Linked DNA regions of Homo sapiens: region 2 is linked to region 1. Evidence: promoter capture Hi-C in 16 types of primary human blood cells and fetal thymus (Javierre and others, 2016). All regions are on one chromosome and are shown on one strand. The core of a region is centred on a gene start or on the middle of the fragment in contact, and the rest is flanking DNA. Distances in the headings are between cores, read along the strand shown.

Region 1 (4,325 bases), core at 991-3,490:
TATCCTGCCCATCCCACACTCCTCATTCCCTCATCTTTTAGGGACCATTCCCTGGGCACCTACAGAGTGCCAGGCCCTGTGGGATGCAGCACTAGGCGCTGGGGAGGCTGACCTCTGGGATGCAGCCTGGCCCAGGGGAGGCATGAGGGCTACATAAGACAGTGTGGGTCAAGCTGAGAGCTCTGCGCCTGGGACTGGGTGGTGCAGGTAGCACCAGGTCCCTCTGGTGGAGAGCTCATGCTTGGCTTCAAAGCAAGTGCCGAGTGCCAGGAATATGGTAGATGCTCAATAAATGTGTACCCTGGGAAGGTAAGAGATGATGCTCTGGGACTTGAGGGTAGTTCTGGTAGGACTGGAGGTGGTGGGGAAGCTGGCCTTGGAGGACAAGTGTCACAGGAACCTCTGCTCTCGACCCAGGGACCAGGAAGGCACATTTGTCACTGTCCTTTGTGATCTCCAGAGGCCACAGCCAAGCTGTGGCTTTGTCCCAGGCAGGCGGCAGGTGGGGTCTGCTGAGACACTGAGTCCAAGCCGCCTTCCCAGGCAGGCATGACAGTTTTCTCCTTCACCTCCCTCGAAGTCACGGTGCTCAGGAAGCCTGTAGCCTAGGAGGAGAAAGAGGCTCCCGGGTTGAGTTTGGGATTCCCTGAGAGAGAATTGGGGTCTAAAGACAAGGAAGCAGGAGGGGGTGACTGCCTCAGGACTCCTCGGCCAGCCCTTGCCCCCCATCTCTGGCCTGAGGGCCCCAGGCCTCCATCCTCTCCCTCCATAGCCCAGCCTCTCCCCCTCTACCTCTGTCTTTAGAGGTGCCAGAACAAGCTGTAAAAAGATAAACGTGACCAAGTCACAGCCCTGCTTAAAAACCCTCTATGGCTCCCACTGCCCCTGATAAAGTCTATCCAAGGCTCTTCCCGATCTGGCTTCTGTTCCCTCACTCCCAGCCTTGCCACCTCATCTTCCCTCCCTTGCTTTTCCTTTGTCTCTAGCCCCAATGAACTCACATGCCAAGGCCTTTGCATGCCGCATTCCCTCGGCCTGGATGTCTTTTCCAGGCCTTCTCTCCTGGCATACACTCATTCAACTGGGCTGTCCCCACCTCCAGGAAGCCACACCAGATAGCAGTCCTCAGGGGCAGAATAGGCCTGAGGGGCCCGCAGAGGGTGTCCTTGGGGATTGTGTGATGTGTGTGTTGGTGAAGGGAGACCCTACAAGCATTTGTTGAGGGGCTTTGGGCCTCTGAGGAGCCACAGCCCCTTTTCATCTTCCTCTCAGTCTGGGAGGCCCAGGCCAGAGTGATCTGCACCCTAACTATACAAGGCCCTGGAATCCCCGTCCCACCCGCGGCAAGGGGCTGGAAGCCACAGGGCCTTAAACTCCCCAGGGTGACCCCCGACACTGAAGGCGATGGTCTCTGCTCTTCCCAGCAAGGCAGGGCCTCTTTACACTGGGTGTCGCGCCGTCTGAGTTCCTGACTTGTTTACCCATCCCGTTGGGGCTCCGGCCGCTGCAGGCTACCTGCTGTGCCCGGGATTGGGGACCTGTGACTCCCGAGTGGAAGAGATGGTGGCCCAGGAGGAGGACCCCGACCTATTCAGACTGGGAGCTGGGGTCAGAGTGTCTCCGTCTCCGGAGGGGGACCTTCCAGACCCCGGGCGGGAGGGGCCCACAGCAGGGTGCCCCGGCGGCCCCAGGAGGGGGTCCGGGCCTCGGGCGAAGGCTGCGGCGCCCCGGAAGGAGCCGCGCACGCCCCTGCACGCGGTGCCCGCTGCGGAGGCCACGGATCCGGAGGTGAGAGCGCCCCCGCCCCGCTCCCTGCCCAGCCCGCGCGCGGCCCGGTCCGGGGCTGGGGGCGGGCGCCAAGAGGGGCGCCGGGCGCAGTGGGGCGGCCCCCTCCCTTTTCCGCAGCGCGGGCCCCGCTCCTCCTCCCGCGTCCAGGCCCGCGGCCGCGCTCCCTGTCCCTCCGCAGCGGGATGCGGACTCCGAGCCCGGGCGGGGGCCGAGGGCCGAGGCCTGGCGGGCCTGGCGGGGGCCCCGGCGGGTGGCGGCGCAAGGGCCGGGACCGAGGCCGCGAGCGCGCCCCTCCCGGCGGCCGGGCGCGGAGAGGCGGGGAGGGCGGGCGTGGGGAGGCGGGCGGCGGCGGGCGGGGGGAGCCAAGGAGGCTCGGAGCCTCGCGGCGCGCGGGCGGGCGGCGGAGGGGGCGCGGGGAGCCCCCCGCCCCACGAAGGAGGAGTCTGGCTCCCACTTGCAGCCTCGGACGCGCGGCGAGGCGGCCGCCGCCGGAGGAGCCCCCGCCCCTGCGCGCCTCCCTCCCGGGAGCCCCTGCCTCCCTCGGTGCGCGCTGCTGCTCGCAGCCGCCGCGGCCGCCGAAGAGGAGCCCGGGGCCAGGTAGGACCGGAGGCGGGCGGGGCGCGGCGGGCGCGGGCGGGAGGCCGGGCGCGGGGCGCGGCCGGGACCCTCTCCAGGCGCTGGGCGACGCCCGCGGCGCTGCGCAGGGGCGCCCGCAAAGTTACTTTGGCCGCCTTTGCCGGGTGCGGGAAGCGGGCTGGGCACCCCAGCTGCCCCGCCTGCCTAGCGGGCGGCGGCGGGAGGGGGCTCCGCCAGGGCGCGGGACTCCGGCTGGGGCCGCGGGGTCAGCGAAACTTTTCCCTTGCTCGCCAGTCGCTGCTGCTGCTGGCGGAGTAGCTGGTGGAAGCAGCGGGCTGGTGGAGTGCCAGTGATGATGATAGTGGTAACAATAGCAGCCCCCGCTTGTAGAGAGCCTACTGTGTGCGCTGCCAAGCCCCTGCTGGCACTTGGGGGGGAAGAGATAGGGAACGAACGCTGGCCGAGTGGCCACTTTTGCTAGGTATTGCTGGAAACTTCATCCATTTCCTTCCATCCATTCATCCCTCCCTCCCATCCATCCATCCATCCATCCATCCATCCATCCACTCACTCAACACATATTTATTCCTGTCTGCTATGTGCTCGGCCAGGGGATTCAGTGGCTACCTAGACAGGTCCCAGCCCTCAAAGGGAATGTTGATCATGGAATGCCCAAACTAAGGAGCAGTTCTGTCTCCTGTGTGTTTGTTCTGGGACATGTTACGGGAGCGTGAATTCATGCTGTCTCCCTTCACCCTGGCAGGGCCAGAGGCGTGTCATTCAGAGCACTGATGTGCCCAGGAGTCTGGCAGGCCCCGGCCTGGCCTTCGGAACTCACCCTGCTCCTTTCCCTCCCACCTCTCCGGGCTCAAGCTGGGTGGCCCAGTTGGTGTCAGGAGGCTCCACTCCGGAACTGGCCCCCACCCCTGTCCAGCTGACCTCTCTGGGATGTCTCTTCCCCAGTGCTGGGCTGGCCTGGCTCCCAGCTCCCCTCCCAGAGTTTCTTTGCCTTCCCCCTCCCCATTTCCCCTGCTCTATTGAATGGCCCAGAGGAGAGCTTGTTAAGTGGCAAACAATTATGAAATTAAACTGGGGGAACAAAAGTGGGCTGGCTGTTGAATGGCGGAGCTGGCTCACGGGAGTTGAATGGCACTGGGAGACTTGTTAGCAGGGATCTGCGGCGCCGGGGGGCGGGGGCGGGTCAGGCAGACAGGCACTGTCAATAATCTGACTGGACTTTGCAAAAAAAAAAAAAAAATTAAACCAACTTGGTGAGAAACCTGGCACAGGGCGATGTTGGAGAGGCCACCAGCTGACTGCCACGTCCAGTCGGAAGCCAGATCTTGGTGTACAGGAGCCAGGGCTCTAAGAGACTATTTGGGGAGGGTGCTGATGGATTCGGCCGGGCTGAGGCAGGGGAGAACCTCAATGCGTTTGAGCTTGTGGTGCTAGGGAGGCATTCTGGAGCCAGGCGCAGTCTGCAGGGGCCCTCTGTGTGGGAACCACGCATGATAAACTGCGCTTCACCGTGCTGGGCTCCTTGCAAATTGGCTTTCTGAGTGGCAGCCCCACAACACTTGTAAAATCTTTTTCTGGAGATGGATTTCGGTGGAATGGTTCCATCGATTCTAGTGCTTGCTCACTGGAGGTACATTAATTGGGCGATGGCTAGTCAAAAGGCGATAATCCAGTCACGGAGGCTTAATCGTGTGTTCGGAAGTGTTTCAGTGTGGGACTGCCTTCCTATTTATTTCTCGGCCCCAGGAATTTCGGAAGACCTGGATTGAATGAGGTCCCTGTACTGGTGATGTGGATGGGTTCAGAGAGTCACCTACATGGCCGAGGAGGTACCTCTGATGTAACCACCCCGTGGTACGCTTAGAATCACTCACATCCACCCTGGCTGATGCCCCGTGGGCTATGCCTGTAGACAGATAGGACAGGTTTAGATCTAGGCGAAC
Region 2 (3,878 bases), core at 962-3,461, 1.2 Mb after region 1:
TATTCAGATGAAATGTCAAAATGAGCAGCGTCCCTCTCCACACTGGCAGCCCCTGTGTCCAGCTGCCTCCAGAAGGTTCCCAGCACCGGGGTCCACACAGCCGTGTTGCTGCCACTTCCAGGTGCTGGCTTGGGGTTTGGGTCCATTTGTTAGAAATCTTGACTTCTGGAAACCTGGGGGCATCTGAAGCCAGAAACTCGAGATTCAAAGGGCCTGGTGGACGTGGGACTCCATGAACATGAGCAGCAGAGCCTCTGAGGGCAGAGACAGGACAGTGTCATCAGGAGCCCCCACATCCTGCTGCCCCTCTGCACCCACCTGGCCGGCCTCCCTGCCTCGCACCCTCACCCCCTCCGGCCACATGCAGCTTGTGGCTTCCCTCCCTTCCCCTCCCTCCTACCTGGAGGCAGGTCTCCTTACACCCTGCCTCCAAGCCCACCACCAGGTGTGCCCGCCAGGGCTCTACCCTCCTACCACCTCCAAGCCCACCACCAGGTGTGCCCGCCAGGGCTCTACCCTCCTACCGCCTCCAAGCTCACCACCAGGTGTGCCCACCAGGGCTCTACCCTCCTACAGCCATCCAGCAAACATTTTAAGGTGTCTCTTGCCCTTTGAGGTCCATAGAACACTTTCAAATATTGGATGTTTCGTGGCAACCTAAGAGGATAAGAAGGTGGGCTCCAGTGGTGAAAAAGCAAGATTTGGAAAACGGAGACCCCCTCGCCCAGGGGTAGCAGTGCCTAGGCCACCTGCAGCATTGACATCAGCAAACTGCCAGGGAGGAGAGTGGAGGCTGCAGAACAGTCAGGTGCAGGCAGGGGCCCAGGGAGGAGGCGAGACCTGAGCAGGGGTGGAGCAGAGGGATGGCCGGTGGTGGGGAAGGAGGATGGGGATGGAGGAGGAGGAGGGTCAGACATGGCGCCCAGTGCCTGGCCTGGGCAGCTAAAACGGCAGCCCCAGGGGAGATGGGAGGCTCAGCCTGCGGTGAACTGAGGGGCCCGGGGCTTCCTCGGGGGATGCCAAGGCTGAGGATGCATGGGGGTTGCAGGAGGGCACAGGCAGAGGCTCAGATGAGAGAGTCGGGGTCGTGGAGATACCAGGAGCCATCAGAATTTGAGTTGACCCAGAGAGAGGCACAGAAAGAGCGGAGGCAGCCGGGACAGGCCCCGAACACACACGGCCAAGAGGAGGCCTGGGAGGGGCATTCAGAGGGAAGGGGCCTCAGAAATGGGGCAGAAAGGAAGGTTCTAGACAGCAAAGGGGCACAGGGTCAGGTGCGGCAGGGAAGGGAGGTGTGGGTACAAATGCGGTCCCCTAAACAGGTTGAGATCCTCACCCCCAGCACCTGTGAGTATGACTTTAAAACCTCACCCGACGGAATCCAGGAGGTGGGAGAGTGTTCTGGAAACAGCAACATCCCCCACAAACGAAGCTTCAGTGACTTCCTTGGGGCCCCTAAGTTCTGAAGGCTCTGGATGTCTGAGACTGGGTCCCAGCCACAGCAGCCTCTCCCGATCCTAAGGCACTGCTAGAGGACCCCTTGGTGATGCCCCATTTCCCTTCCCCGCCCGACTTACGCTCCCAGGACCAGCAACAACAGCTAGAGTGAGGTATATTCCTAGAGCTCTGTCGTTTAACCCTCACGGTGGCCGAGTGGGCAGGTGTGATGATTTGCGCATCTCCCAGGGAGGAAACCCACACATATCAGGGGAACCACAACTTCTCCCAGCTCAGAGAGACAGAGCTGAGCCCTCACCTGCTGGCTGTCAGGTCAGGCCAGCCTCCCACTCCATGACACAGAACGGACCTGAGGGGACCCCTCGGTGAGGCAGGCCTGGGCTCCAGTGCCGGCCCTCTCCCGCTGTGTGGCCTCGGGGAAGCCTCTTCCCCTGTCTGAGCCTCTGCATTCTCATCTGTAGAATGGGGATGCTCTGTCCTGCCTTCCAGAGCGTTGCTGATATCAGAATCCAGGTGTGGAACTTGGGCAGCAGAGTAGCGCCGGTGCCCTCCAGGCCAGCCCATTCTGTCCAGGCTCCAGTTCGGCAGTGGACTCCTCCTGCCCTGACCCTCACCCTCCATCCGCCTGTTTCCCGGGGTACGCTAGTCACCACGCTAAGGATGCCCTGGGGCCAGATACCCTTATGCCCCACCTCCAAGCCCACCAGGTGTGCCTGCCAGTGCTTCACCCTCCTGGGGCTCCACAGGCATCTGGCACCTTGAACCCAGCAGGGCCCCTGGAGACAAAACCCTCATCTACCTTTCACTTAAGCAGGGCCAGAGAGAGGCAGCCTCCTTTCCTTTGCTTTTCAACTGCTCCCAAACCAGCCCCGAAGCAGCCTGCCATGAGGCCCAGACAGCCTGTCCCATCCCAGCCCAGGCAGGATTAATATGCATGTATGGTAATCAGCGAAGCCCAGCAATTTGCATAACAATCAGAGGGAGTGTCCCCTCTCCTGGACTGCTTCCAAGGGCAGCTCCCACCCTGGTTCCCCACAAGACAGCAGGGGAGGGTATGATGGGGCCCCTGGACCCCCCAAGTGCTAGACCGGTGGCCTGGCTTTCAGCCCTGGAGGCTTCAGCCTGGAGAGGGCGGGATAGGTGGGGTACGGGGGTCCTTGGGCAGGGGAAGATACCAGTGAGACACTCATCTGACTGTCTCCAGAACTGTTTCCCGCATTCTTGAGGCCATGCTGGGGAAGCAGGAGAGAAACAAGGGTGTGGCCTCTCCTGGGCCTGCGTCCTGGGGAGGTGTGGAGTTGGGGGGCTCCGGGAAGGGACTCTGCTCGCCTCATCGAGGGGGCCTCTCCTGGGCCTGCATCCTGGGGAGGTGTGGAGTTGGGGGCTCTGGGCAGGGACTCTGCTTGCCTCATTGAGGGAGCCTCTCTTGAGCCTGAAAAATTGGGAAGGTGCCAGGACTCCCTTATAAGGTCGTTTGCCCTTAAGGAGATGGAGGAGAGTGTGTTCTGGAAGCAGCACCGTCCCCCATAAATGAAGCTTCTTATGACTCGGCTGCTTGGCCAACCTCACGGAGCCCCTTCCTTGGGCCCCTGGGGACACAGAGATGCCTGGGCATGGCCCCATCCCTTCTTAAGGGCTCGGCAGAGAGCAGCCAGGCCCTGCAGATCACCCTCATGCACGGGCCAGTCCAAGGTTTCCAGCATCTTGGTAGCTCTGCAGGCAGCGCCCTTCCCCGAGGGGGTCTTAGGCTGTCCCTCCGAACAGATCCCCACTTGCAGGAGGCTGGGCTCTGCTCTCCAAATGCTTGTCCATAATAATGAAACCCTTGCACATCTGCCCAGCACCTAGGAGCTGTCCAGAGTACCACCACATCCCGACCCCTATCACCCCGTGACGGCCCCTCAGTGGGCACTGGAACAGTGGAGCTCAAAGAGGAAGGATCTGGTGCCACCACGCCCCACCCCAGATCAGAGGTAGGAAAACCCAGGACTCAAGAGAGCTGGTCCAGGCCCTGCCCACCATGTCCATCACCCAGCCATCCATGGGCACAGTATGAGCTGGCCCAGGCCCTGCCCACCACGCCCATCACCCAGCCACCCACTGGCACAGTGCCCAACCACTCTTCTCCCCCGCCCCCTGCCTACTCTACTCAGTGACCAGATGAATCTTCTAGCTCCTCCTCTGCCCTGACCTCAGGTGACAAGCTGTGGCTTGCTGGGGAAGCCCAGTGGCTCACCGGGCACCAAAGCCCTCCCTGCAGGTGAGGACCAAGGAGCCCACCCAGCTGGTGCGGAGGCAGGAGGGACACGTCTGCCCTGCACTCTGAATCATGCAGGCATTTGATCCTTAATAACAATATGAGGAGGAGCTGTATCAAGTCTCAGGGTTTTTATGGGCCAAAAGTGATCCCACATTGGCAA

The links. Contacts are between HindIII fragments. The CHiCAGO score rates a contact against its expected background, and 5 or more counts as called.
Region 2: a fragment that was not itself captured here is called in contact with the fragment with the promoter of MPPED1 in region 1 in 1 of 17 cell types (neutrophils); the score reaches 7.4 in neutrophils.

What each region holds. Positions count from the first base shown.
Region 1 is chr22:43,409,774-43,414,098 of GRCh38, forward strand. MPPED1 (metallophosphoesterase domain containing 1) reads left to right here and starts at 2,241. Exons shown (of 7, transcript NM_001044370.2): 1 at 2,241-2,385. The HindIII fragment of the contact is 9,110 bases long and covers 1-4,325 here.
Region 2 is chr22:44,606,392-44,610,269 of GRCh38, forward strand. It overlaps LINC00229 (long intergenic non-protein coding RNA 229), which reads right to left. Exons shown (of 5, transcript NR_044991.1): 4 at 540-657; 5 at 1-254. Among named protein-coding and RNA genes, the nearest start is that of LINC00229, 17 kb to the right of the region's middle. RefSeq lists an enhancer at 812-1,517. The HindIII fragment of the contact is 1,562 bases long and covers 1,431-2,992 here.